Linked DNA regions of Homo sapiens: region 2 is linked to region 1. The links are contacts of gene promoters, found by promoter capture Hi-C in blood cells and fetal thymus (Javierre and others, 2016). All regions are on one chromosome and are shown on one strand. Each heading gives the region's core, a stretch centred on a gene start or on the middle of the fragment in contact. The rest is flanking DNA. Distances are from core to core; before and after follow the strand shown.

The links. Contacts are between HindIII fragments. The CHiCAGO score rates a contact against its expected background, and 5 or more counts as called.
Region 2: a contact is called between the fragment with the promoter of LINC00544 here and a fragment that was not itself captured in region 1, in 3 of 17 cell types (total CD4 T cells, naive CD8 T cells and naive CD4 T cells). The highest score is 5.7, in total CD4 T cells.

The regions. Positions count from the first base shown.
Region 1 is chr13:30,461,057-30,467,556 of GRCh38, reverse strand. It overlaps HMGB1 (high mobility group box 1), which reads left to right and starts at 1,621. Exons shown (of 5, transcript NM_002128.7): 1 at 1,621-1,761; 2 at 3,863-4,026; 3 at 4,205-4,350; 4 at 4,845-5,019; 5 at 6,024-6,500. The coding sequence starts at 3,877. The coding sequence ends at 6,200. RefSeq lists enhancers at 662-1,437, 1,438-2,213 and silencers at 1,649-1,958, 2,558-3,197. The HindIII fragment of the contact is 4,528 bases long and covers 158-4,685 here.
Region 2 is chr13:29,932,211-29,938,542 of GRCh38, reverse strand. LINC00544 (long intergenic non-protein coding RNA 544) reads right to left here and starts at 2,012. Exons shown (of 5, transcript NR_033889.1): 1 at 1,842-2,012; 2 at 1,262-1,341; 3 at 534-637. RefSeq lists enhancers at 2,579-2,698, 2,829-2,948, 3,669-3,728. The HindIII fragment of the contact is 6,836 bases long and covers 1-6,094 here.

The DNA.
Region 1 (6,500 bases), core at 1,172-3,671:
GTGCAGTATACCAATTTATATCCTCTTTAATATTATAGTCTTTTTCATGTGCATGTGTGATATATTGTCCATTCACCAAGACTATAATCCCTGAGTCCGATAGTGTATTTTCTTTTAAAAAGAAATCAACATTAAAACAGGAAAGATTATCTAAGCTTACTCTCAAGTAGTTTAATACATTTGAGGAAATAAATTAGGTTATGGATGCTTATAAGCGATATAAAAAATCAAATTAACACGATGTAGGTGATTTATTCCAAATTTGATCTGTTACATTTGGAGGAATTGGTTGTTGGATTTAGAAGTGTACAAAATACCATTAGAGAGTGAAAAAAAAGGGAAGTCTGTTATAACTGAATAGGGGCGTGGTCTGCTCAGGCTAAAAGGAATAGATAGTAGTTTCATAAAGGACTGATATAACTGTAGAGTCTTCAGAACTGGCCACTACAGCCAGCACATTTTCTCTACAGACGTAAGTATGTCTATTAATACCAGCCAGCTTGGTGAGTTAGAGAAACCACAGCCTGTGGATTTGGGCACATGCACTCTCTGCCTGCATCTAATCCTTCGGGTAACCATATACCTACAACTCCTGTAATCCTAGAGCAGTTACATGGATGCACTAAGTGGTGTGATGGGAGGGAAAGATAGCATCACAAGGATTCGTTTGATTGTAACAGTAATCCACACCAAGTCAAATAAAATAGCCAAACAGTTTAGAATGTGGTCTCTAATGAATTTGCTAATTCTACCAGGGCCTCACAAACATTTCCTGCTAGAGTACCCCATATCAAACCAAGTGGCTGTTCTTTAATTACATGGAATAATTATTTGATTTCCAGGAAGTTAAGACAGTGCTTTGTATTTAAATAAAAAGTTCTAGACATGCTGTGAAACTCGATCAAACCAAGAAAAAGGGTGAAACTGAATGCCTGCTCACTGACTCAAGATTTCAGCTGCTCAGCGAGCCTGACGTGACGGCTTATGAGCCCAGAAAAGGGGTATTTTAAACCCGGCTGGCTGGATCATGTCACTTTCTTATAGAAGCCCTGCCTTTCCAGAGACCTAAAGTGTAACGCAATCAGAGACCTTTGAGGGGCTCGAGGCTCGGCGGCTTCCGCCCCTCAGCACCAGCAGAGACCCCAGTTTTCAGGGGACATGATCCCATAGTGTCGCCCTCACTTTTGAAGGGCCATTAAAAGCCTGGGGCCTCTTATCTCAACGGCTTTGGGCGTGAATGTGGGGCAAGAAGGGGGGGGGAGACCTGTGGGTGTCTCTTTTGCCTGAGGAGTTGGAGACACTTGTGGAAAAGTCAGGCCCTTTTCGCTCCGGCGGCCGCTCCGGTGTGGGGCTGGCTTGGGTTAGACACATGCACACATACACCATAGAGCTCTGCTTTCCCGTAGCAGCTGCTGCCTCTGCCTCTGCCTCTCCCGCCTCAGCCTCTTTGCCCGGCATACACACACATTCAGATTTGCGCGCTGTTTCAATCCTTGATGACGTGTCCCCGGAGACAGCCAATAGCAAACGGGCTCTGGTCAGGACAATGGGAGGTATCGGGCCAATGAGCGAGCCCCGTGAGTTGGCGGTAGCCAATAGGAGCCGCGCTGGCTGGAGAGTAATGTTACAGAGCGGAGAGAGTGAGGAGGCTGCGTCTGGCTCCCGCTCTCACAGCCATTGCAGTACATTGAGCTCCATAGAGACAGCACCGGGGCAAGTGAGAGCCGGACGGGCACTGGGCGACTCTGTGCCTCGCTGAGGGTGAGTCTGGGGCAGCGCCGCGGCGGGGAGAGCGCCTCCGGCAGCTCCCCAGCCCGCGCGGCGGCCGGATCCCCGCGGCCGGGAGCCGGCGGGTCAGGATCCACACAAAGGCAAATGAGGGGGGACCGTGGGGGGAACTGCGCACGGAGCGAGCCTCTGCCCGGGCGCCGGGAACGCTGCCCCGCGCCGGTGCCCCGGCCCTCAGGCAGCCTGAGGCGCCGGGAGCCCCGCGCCCCGCGAGTTTCCACCCCCGGCGGCGTCCGCGCTGACTGGCGCAAAAAAAAAAATTTTTTTTTTAATTAAAAAAATTTTGAACGTGTTTTGGGCCCTCGGGCCGGGCGTTCGGGCGGGCGGCGTGCGCGGAGCGCGGCCGGGGCGGCGGGGCCGGCGCGGCTCGGCGGCGGCGGCGGGAGGGCAGCGGCGGCGCTTCCCCGGGCTGCATTGGCCGCCGCCGCAGCGAGCCGGGCGCTGGCGGGGAGCGCGGCCAGCCGGGCGGGCGGCGGGGCGGGCGGGGCGCCGCGGCGGGCGAGGGCGGCGCGGGGGCCTGGGGGCGGCAGTGCGGGCCCGGCCGGCCTCGGCCCGGTCGCGGCGGCGGCGGCGGCCGGGCGGCGGGGGGAGCGGCGCCGCTGCGCTCGCTGGAACATGGCTGACTCGGGCCCGGCGCTGCTGGCTGGAGAGAAAACAAGGCGGGCGGGCGGGGGAGCTGGGCGCAGCAGTTCCGAGGCAACTTTTTTTTTCCTCTCTCTTTTCACAGCCCCGCGTTCTCCGTGCGGGGGCGGCGGGGCGCGCGGCCCGCGCGGAGGGAGACGGGGAGTGGCGGGCGGGTGGGCCCTCGGGCGGCCCCCACCGCGGCGGGGGGAGGGGAGCGGCGCGGAGGGGAGGGCCCGGCCGCGCGCCCCCCGCCCCTCCCCCGGCCGTAATGGCCGAGTGTGTGCGCCAGAGCGCGGCTCGCACCCCGCCCGCCGCCGCCGCCGCGCCCGCACCCTCGCACTCACACACTCTCTCATACACACACACACACACACACACACACAAAGGGAAGGAGCCATATTCTCGCTCGCGCTCGCCCTCGCGGCGGCGGCGGCGCAGGCGGAGAAGACGCGCAGCGGCCATTCCGTGCGCGCCGGCCCCGGCGGCCGCGGGCGGAGCCAGCCCCCATTTCGAGCGGGGCTTCTCCCTGCGCCGAGCCTGACAAAATGGGGGCGGCGGCGGCGCGGGCCTGCAGGGCCTGCCGGGCGCACGTGGCGGCCTCGGGCCTGGGAGCCGGGCCGCGTCCTCTCTCCTCGGCCGCGCGGCCACCGGCGAAGTTCTAGGGGCGGGGGGCTCGCCCCGCGCAGGAGTCACCCCAACTTTCACGGCTCCAAAAAATACTTCCCGAGTTGGGGGAGGGGGCCACCGAGCCACGAGCAGGAGTGGCTTTTGTCCCTCATCCTTGTTTACTCGGAGAAACTTCAGACCGGACGTGTTTAGTCAGAACAGAAATACATCTCAGGGCCAAACCGATAGGAAACGAGGCTGCCTCGCGGTGGCACCGCCACCCCCCAACCGGGTTCCGAGCACCGGAGCTGGCTGCTGCTCCCTCTTTGGAGCAAAGTTTTATGCAAAGAGGGTGTTTTTTGAAACTTTCGGTGCACGGTGATTTTTTTTTTTTAAGGTCCCATAATTAGGAAGAGTCGACTCGCTTAGGCCCTTGTTTATTCCCTATCTAGTGCAAAGCCACGAATTGGCAGCATGTTTTCTGACCTTTGGTTTGGTTGGTTTAAAATGGTGTTCTAGATTTTAAAATCGTTTAAGTGACCAGTTAGATACTCATTCAGAGCAGACTCGGGCGGATAGATAGGGAATACTGTATGGGTATATCTTTGTGTCTAGACTTTTTGAGATCGCCCTGAAGGACTGTTTTTGTTTTGTTTTGTTTGCTTGGCATAGCCCCTTCAAGGAATTTAATCTCTCGGCCATATTCTTGTCTGATTTTACGGAGGTTGATGTCGCTACTGTGTTAAATAACCAGTACTTTGGTTTTCATTCCCTTACTAAGTACTTTAAGGTCTTATATGTCATAATTTTATTGCTAACATCAAATATTTATTTTATTTTTTAGAAAAATAACTAAACATGGGCAAAGGAGATCCTAAGAAGCCGAGAGGCAAAATGTCATCATATGCATTTTTTGTGCAAACTTGTCGGGAGGAGCATAAGAAGAAGCACCCAGATGCTTCAGTCAACTTCTCAGAGTTTTCTAAGAAGTGCTCAGAGAGGTGGAAGGTAAGAGGGCTTAAAACATGCTAACAAGGTAATTAAAAGACAGTTTCCAATTGAGGATGCAAAAAAAAGCCTAGTTGGCATTCTCGTAGTGGGACGCTATTACATAGCAAAAGACATTGGTTTTGAGGATAATTTACTTAAATGTTACAACTTAAACTTACAAATAATTATTTTGTAGACCATGTCTGCTAAAGAGAAAGGAAAATTTGAAGATATGGCAAAAGCGGACAAGGCCCGTTATGAAAGAGAAATGAAAACCTATATCCCTCCCAAAGGGGAGACAAAAAAGAAGTTCAAGGATCCCAATGCACCCAAGAGGCCTCCGTGAGTATCTTGCCTGTTTTTACTTCCCAGACACGTTTTACAGTAGAATCTGAGAGAAATTTAGCAAGCTACTTTGTCAGTTTAGAGTGTAAATGTACAATCAAAGTTTCTTAGCTAATACTTGTTCATATTGGTTATATTTAAATAGTATAAAATTCCTGTTGGGTGGGAGTGTTCCCAGAGCATTTGAATTAGACATTTGGTCTCCTTTGCCCAGTGTATCTCCTTTTGATCTTTTTATTTCTTGAAAAATACTATCCCTTTGAAATAGTGTAATTGTAGAATGTTCATCTAGGGTTCTAGCTAGTATAAATTAAATAGTTGTAAATTAAGCTTTGGTTGTGAAGGATATTTAGTATATTATAGTATTTGCACCCTGTCCAATGCATCACAGAAATTCACAGGCAGCTTTAAATAGCAATGCAGTGTACACTTGATAGTATTTGTTTTTGTGATCTGTTAACTTAAAATCCTAAAATTAATTTTTTTTTTAGTTCGGCCTTCTTCCTCTTCTGCTCTGAGTATCGCCCAAAAATCAAAGGAGAACATCCTGGCCTGTCCATTGGTGATGTTGCGAAGAAACTGGGAGAGATGTGGAATAACACTGCTGCAGATGACAAGCAGCCTTATGAAAAGAAGGCTGCGAAGCTGAAGGAAAAATATGAAAAGGTAAGAAGTGTGGGTTTGCTTGGTAAAATGATGACAAGTACGCCAGATGTATGATTGTACTTAGTTTGAGGTGTAATAAGTTTTTAGGGTAACAGCTACATTAAGTATGGTGTTGATATAAGTCCTCATCCTTCAAAGAATGCAGAGGACCAAATAAATTAGGGTTTTTTTGACTAAAATGTAATCAGACTCAGACAAAGGCTGTGTACATTTATGTTGGTTTTGTTATTCCCCAGTATCTTGAAGTTCATGAAAATGTTGGTAGTCACTTCAAGTCAAAAATGAGCATTTTCAAATGGCTTGGCATACAGTACAAAAACAGGCTAGACAAAGTAATATAGGCTATATTTTTCTTAGTCATATCCTGAAACATTTATGTTCTTTTCCTTTAGATACTCAAAAAACCACAGCATCACTAAGTTAAATTACAAGTCTGCTGCTCTGTCCAGTAAATTAATAAGATTAAGGAAATCTATAACTCTTATAGTTCAGTAAATTGAAATATTAAATACTTAATTTTCAGCTTTAGTCATTCTGAAAAGTGTTTATTTCTAGATGTTTCTTAACCTAATTGCATGTTTATTGACAAATTACCTTTTTTTTTTAAGACCACATTTCCTACTAAGGATTAAGGTCTGACAGTGTAAACCTGTAGAGTGCTTTTTTGCATTCAGAAGGTGGCAGTGTCTACCCTTTAATCAAAGTCTCTACATTCTGGTTTTAATAGAGTTAGGATGTGGTACATAATTGCACCTCAATGAGGCATAACTTTGCAAATATTAGACTATGCCATTTCATGAGTTATAGATTGTTATAATGATCTTGTATTTTTATGTTCATTTATTGAAGTTCTAGTTATTTCTGGAGTTGCTGTGGATCTACAGATACGTGATATTTTGGTATAACTAGAATCTTGATTTCTTTCATAAAGTTCTGCCATGTTCTATTTCTTTCCTTAATGTTTTTTTCTTCCCTACTGTTTTATCCTCCCTTTGCTTTGGAAGGATATTGCTGCATATCGAGCTAAAGGAAAGCCTGATGCAGCAAAAAAGGGAGTTGTCAAGGCTGAAAAAAGCAAGAAAAAGAAGGAAGAGGAGGAAGATGAGGAAGATGAAGAGGATGAGGAGGAGGAGGAAGATGAAGAAGATGAAGATGAAGAAGAAGATGATGATGATGAATAAGTTGGTTCTAGCGCAGTTTTTTTTTTCTTGTCTATAAAGCATTTAACCCCCCTGTACACAACTCACTCCTTTTAAAGAAAAAAATTGAAATGTAAGGCTGTGTAAGATTTGTTTTTAAACTGTACAGTGTCTTTTTTTGTATAGTTAACACACTACCGAATGTGTCTTTAGATAGCCCTGTCCTGGTGGTATTTTCAATAGCCACTAACCTTGCCTGGTACAGTATGGGGGTTGTAAATTGGCATGGAAATTTAAAGCAGGTTCTTGTTGGTGCACAGCACAAATTAGTTATATATGGGG
Region 2 (6,332 bases), core at 763-3,262, 530 kb after region 1:
TCCCCTGGGGACCCGGGCACTAAGGACACGAGGAAGCCCAGTGGAAAGGCCAGGCCAAGGGAGCGCTGAGGTCTGGGCCTGGCTGAGCATCTCCATGAGGGGCCCTCCGACAGCAGGTGGGAGGGCGAGATCAGGGCAAAGGGGGCCTGTGAGGAAGAGGGGATCATTACAGAGAGAACCAAGAGGAGTACAGGGTCAGCTCAGCCCACTTAGCACCTTTGCACCTGCCGGCCCTGATGACCGGCCATGATCGTTCCATTTTGGGGCTTTTGAAGAGGTGGGGAGGTCCTGGGCCCAGCCAGGACGAGACTGGGGAGTGTTCTGCGGCTGAGTTTGGCTGTGTAATTAAAGCCCTGGTGTCTAGTGCCGAGAAGAAAAGAGAAAACAGCATTGGAACCCAACTGGCAGATGTGCTTGTTGTGCTGAGAGAAATTCACAGAACCTTGTGGTGCCATCTGGCTGAGAGCTGACTGTTTGCATGATGCAGTTCTCACTTAAGGAGGTGAAGCATCAAACTCCCTGGCCCCACCCACCTGCCTCTGCATCTGGGCAGCTGAAGGTAAGGGCACTCAGCAGCCCCGATGTAATGCCACATCCCAGTGTGCTCAGGAGGAAGCCACCAATCTTTGTTCTCTGCCTAAGGAAAGAAAAACAGCTAAAACAAAGCATTCTAGGACTGACCTTTGGTACAATGTTGGAAATATGAAAGAAATATAAATGTAACATTTTAAATTTCTGAAACGAGGAATAATTATCAATTTCATATACACAAAGTAAGCCCAGTAGGCAGGCCTACTAGAGCAGTGGTCTCCAAATTTTTTGGCATTAGGGACGGGTTTCATGGAAGACAATTTTTCCACAGATGGGGTCCGGGGGATGATTTTGGAATGAAACTGTTTTGCCTCATCCTCAGGCATTAGATTCTCATAAGAAGCACCCAACCTAGAGCCCTCACTTGCGCAATTCACAATAGAGTTCACGCTTCTATGAGACTCTTATGCTACCGGCTGATCCGACAGGAGGCAGAGCTCACGTGGTAACGCTCACTTGCCCACCGCTCACCCCCGGTTGTGTGGCCCGGTTCCTAACAGGCCACAGACTGGGACTGGGACCTGCCCGAGGCTGTGGGGTTGGGGATCCCTGTGCTAGAGGCTCTCAGAAGCATTCTCCATCTCCAGATAATATTCTGTCCCTCCACATGTGAAGGAGACACAGAGCTTTCCTGATGGAGCCTGGCAGGTCTGTCTGTCTTTATACACACCCATTGTATAGAGAAGTATTCTGGATCCAGGGTATATCATGATCATTGTCAATTTTCAGAACATCTCCTGGGCTGGTGAACTGTGGTTAGATAATAAAGAGTTGCTGGTGAAATGCCTCAGGGTGTGGTTAGAAAAAAGAAAGAAAAACAAGTGGTAATATAGGGTGCGGGGGGAGGTATGGGGAGGCTGGGTAACTGTGATTTTTAACTCAAGAAGGAAAAAGGGAGAGGAGAAAAAATGAAGACTCTATAGCTCATCTAGAGTGAGCCAAATTGGATCCCAAACACTAACACTTAATGCACTAAAAACTGTATAATTCAAACATCTCTCAACACAGAAGATGGGTACCACGTGTGTAACAAAACATAATTGAGCTGAGGTGAATCCCTGTCCTTAAAAGAGGTTTATAAGCTAATAGTGGTGATGAAGGTGAGGAAGACTCTTAGTTCCACTCAGAAAGTGAGAGGATCTGAATACTCCAGAAAAGGAAAAAGATAAGAGGAGAGATGAAATGAGATTGGCAAATTGTTGATGATTGTTGAAACTGAGCAATGAGTATTGAAAGGCAGGGATCATTACCTGACTCTTCTATCCAGGAGGCCGTTAGTGGACCAGGAAGTCAGGACAAGATCTGAGGTGAAGAGCTGGTGAGGAGTGAGACAGCTGCCAAGGTCCACCTTGTTCCCCTAAGGAGCTGAGCTCTTTCTCTTCCTTCCTTTTAGACAGGTTCATTAAAGCTGGCCCACTCCACATGACCTAGAAGGACTGGGTCAACCCTGAAAGGTTTGCTCCATAGCCCAGAATGACAACCTCTGACATCACAAATGCAGGATTGGAGAAGGCATAGTTGGCATGCAAGCCGTATTGATTTTTTTACAAATCAGAGCTTCATGCTTGCTGCTGAGAACATTTCACCGGGCCACGAAGCTGCTGCAGGAAGTTTTCAAGTCCTCTCCTCTACACCGTGACCTTAACTTAGAGAGCACTCTCAGCCCCTCCTCCCATCCCCCCGCACCTGCCCAGGTGGGCCCCACTGCTCTCCACACCCACACCCACCTGGTCGTTGCTCTCTACCGAGGAGGCTCTCCCTGCTTTGCTGTGCTTTTGTCAACTTTCCTGCAGCTTCCCTGTTCTGGGAGGCTGAGCTAGAGTGGAAACGACCAGCTTCCCCAAACAGGCAGCTCCGAGAAGGCGTCTGCTCCGCGTCTGCTCCCACTGAGCCAAGGTCCAGCCCAAACGCTCAAATTAGAGCTTGTTAGCCAATTGCTGAAAAACTGCAGGGGGACTCATTTGTAAGCAAACTAATGAGACATCCCAGGATAGAAAGCCTGGTTTTATTTTTAGCATTTCAGAGCTGACACCCCAAACACCTCTATAACCACCTGCCAGTCTGAAGAGGGAACAAGCAGAGCTCAGGATGTGGTGCCGTGCGAGGGCGGTAAGTGGAAGGAAGCAGCGCATGGGGAGGGTGCCTTGGAGACCAGAGGAGCACAGCAAGGGGAGGATGCTCAGCTCTCACACCTGCTCTGTCTTGGTCATAATGAAAAAACAGCTCTGACACAGGGAGTGTGTCAGAACACCACAGTACCCTCTGGGACTGTGTGGGAAAACAAAAAACAAAAACCAAAACAAGGGAGACTCCTTCCCTCTTAACCTCAAATGGTCCCTCTTAACTCCAGACCCTTGAGCGTCTTGCTCCGCCACTGCATGGGGCAGGTGCAATGTACTCTGTGATCTGTGATCTCCTTGCTATATTCCTGGCAGGGGCTCTGCTACTGTGGGCTTTCACAGCATGACTCCAGCCTTGCTGCACTCAGGCCTCACTGTCACCAAGTGGGCTGGGGCTGCCCACCAGGGGGGCATGCAGGGCCTTTCCCTCTCCCCATGCCCTGGTCTCAGGTACACTGCTGCTGCATGCCAGCTCTTTTCTGCTGCATCCTATGCAGCCACTGGGCCACTTGCTCCTCCCAGGCAAATGCTGAAGAGACACTCTGCTCTTCAGCAGATTGGTGCACACCTATATTTAGCCACATTGTGGAATATAGTGACAATGATACTTTGTACTCAGGAGACACCTTTTATCAGAGGAGTGTGATGCACTCTGCAAACATCATCAGCACGGCACCCTTGGGGAGGAAAGACTGTGCCAAGTCTTCCAATCCCCAGGCTTACAGCTAGAGAGATTGAAGCCAGGGAGGCGGGGTGTCACCAGAATCTCCTAATGAGTCAGGAGGCCTGAACGGAGTGATGAGGTGCTCCTGGAAGGTTTTCATCACACCTGCCTCTTTCTGAGCCTGCAGAGCCTATAGTTCCCCCTAGAGCTGGTCCTCTCTCCCTCCCTGGCACAAAAGTGTTCCTTTGCTCACACAGCTGTCCCTGTGCCTGGACACACTTGTAACTTGACTTTAAAAGCCATCTGCCAGCTCACTAGAAACACAGACATGCTGTCTGTGCTGGGGCTTACATTTGCATCACCGCGGTACCTCGATGCTCAGGACAGATATTTCTACTCAAATCTATACCTTGCCTGAATGGAGCTATGAGGGTGTGACCCAGAGGAAGTGCTGTGAAACTCTGCATAAAGAGATTAGTTCAGATGCCCTCTCTTTTATGACACAGGGTAACCAATCAGATACTCCACTTCCCAGAAGTGGCTGGACACAGACTGCCCTGTAGTAGAGAGACAAAGCAGTGGGATGAGTGGGTCCTACGTAGGGATCCTCAGGGATTCCTTGGGCACAAGCAGGATCTCTCTTCTCAGAAAGAGCCAACAATACCATATGTTAGAAGCTCAAAACCAACTGTATTCTTTTCATTCTGTTATCACTGATAATTACTAGCATGCCTTTGTAGCAGATGCAACGGATGTGGCAACATTTCTCATGCCTTAGCAAGGCCGAAATGGCAAAAAGCAATGCTAACCAAAGGGTCTTTGGATAGAGAGTGTTCTGTGTAGGGGTAGAACAGTGCTTTGGTTCTGGACACAGGCTTTATATTCCCCAGACCCCAATATAAACCCCACTACATACCCTGTGCCACAACTGATGATTGACATGACTTCATAGTGAGGCGCAGTCTATGTCCTCCCTCCTCAAACCCAAGCAGATATTTGCAAATTCCTGTACCACTAGCTTATGGTGGACATGATGGGGTGTGACTTCCAAGACTAGAGTATAAAAGGCAATACCACGTCCATCTTGGCACCTTGCATTGCTCCCATGGCGAAGCCAACCTCCACGCCCTACACTCAGCAGCTCTGTTGGATAAGCCTGTGTGGAGAGAACAGAGACCTCCAGCCTCCAGCCTGTCCCAGCTTCCCAGGCAGGTGTGTGGTTGGGCCATCTTAGGAGCAGGCTGTCTAGCCCCATCACGACGTCAAATGATGGCAGGCCTAGCCAACTCATGACTGCAATTGTGATAGGGACCTCCCAGGGAGAACTACCAGACCAAGTCCTTCCTGAATTCCTCATCAACAAAGACAGAAATCATTTTTGTTTTTTAAGCTACTATGTTTGGGGGTGATGGTGTTATATAACTAAAACGCCATGGGGCAATTCGAAGCAGAAGGGTGCAGTGAGACGATGCATGGGGGAGAATCCATCTGGCCACTGTGTAGAGAACGGACTGCAGAGGAGCAAGGATCGGGGCAGGATGACCAACTATGAAAAACAGCCATAGCGGTAGTAATTATGCCTACTTCATAGAAGCATTTAAAGTATTCCATGAGATACCAGAGGTACAGTGCCTAATAATGCCTGTCTCAGAGTAGTAGCAATGATGGGCATGTCTCATTTTATTGTGCTTTGCTGTATTGCACTCTGCAGATACTGTGTTTTGTACACATTGAAGGTTTGCAGCAACCCTGTGTCAAGCAAGTATATCAGGGCCATTTTTCCAACAATAGCACTCACTTCATGACTCTGTGTCACATTTTGGTAATTCTCGCAATATTTTACATTATTATTATATCTGTTTTGATGATCTGTGATCAGTGATCTTTAATGTTACTATTGTAATTGTTTTGGTGTGCCACCAATTGCACCCACATAAGACAGCAAACTCAATCAATAAATGTATGTGTTCAGACTGCCCTGCAAATTGGCCATTACCCCATCTCTCTCCCTTTCCTTGGGCCTCCCTATTCCCTGAGACACAATAATATTGAAATTGGAACAATTAATAACCCTACAATGTCCTCTAAGTGTTTAAGTGGAAGGAAGAGTCGCATGTCTCCCACTTGACTTTGAAAGCTAGAAAAGATTCCGCTTATTAAGGAAGGCAGGCCAAAAACCTAGTTCGGCTGAAAGTGAGGCCTCTTGCTCCAAACCGTTAGCCAAGTTGTAAATGCAAAGAAAAAGTTCTTGAAAGAAATTTAAAATGTTACTCCAGTGAACACATGAATGATAAAACAGAGAAACAGCCTTATTGTTGATATGGAGAAAGTTTGACTGGTCTGGGTGGAAGTTCAAACCAGCCACAACATTCCCTTTAGCCGAAGCCTAATCCAGAGGAAGGCCCTAACTCTCTTCAATTCTGTGGAGGCTGAGAGTGGTGAGGAAGTGGCAGAAGAAAAGTTTGAAGTTAGGAGAGGTTGGTTCATGAGGTTTAAGGAAAGACGCTGTATCTATAACATAAGAGCGCAAGGTGAAACTGCAAGTGCTGATATAGAACCTACAGCAAGTTATGTAGATGCTCTAGCTAAGATCACTGATGGAGGTGGCTGCTCTGAACAATAGATTTTCAATGTATTCAAAACAGCCTTCTATTGGAAGAAGAAGCCATCTAGGACTTTCATAGCTAGAGAGGAGAAGTCAATGCCTAGCTTCAAAGCTTCAAGCGACAGGCTGACTCTCTTCTCAGGGGCTAATGTAGCTGATGATTTCAAGGTGAAGCAAGTGCTCATTGACTGTTCTAAAAATCCTTTGTCCCTTAAGAATTATGCTAAGTTTACTCTTCCTGTGTTTTGTAAATTGAACACAAAGTTTAGATGATAGCACATCTGTTTACAGCATATTTTGTTTACTGAATATTTTAAGCCAAAAATTAAGACATATTACTGAGAAAAAAACA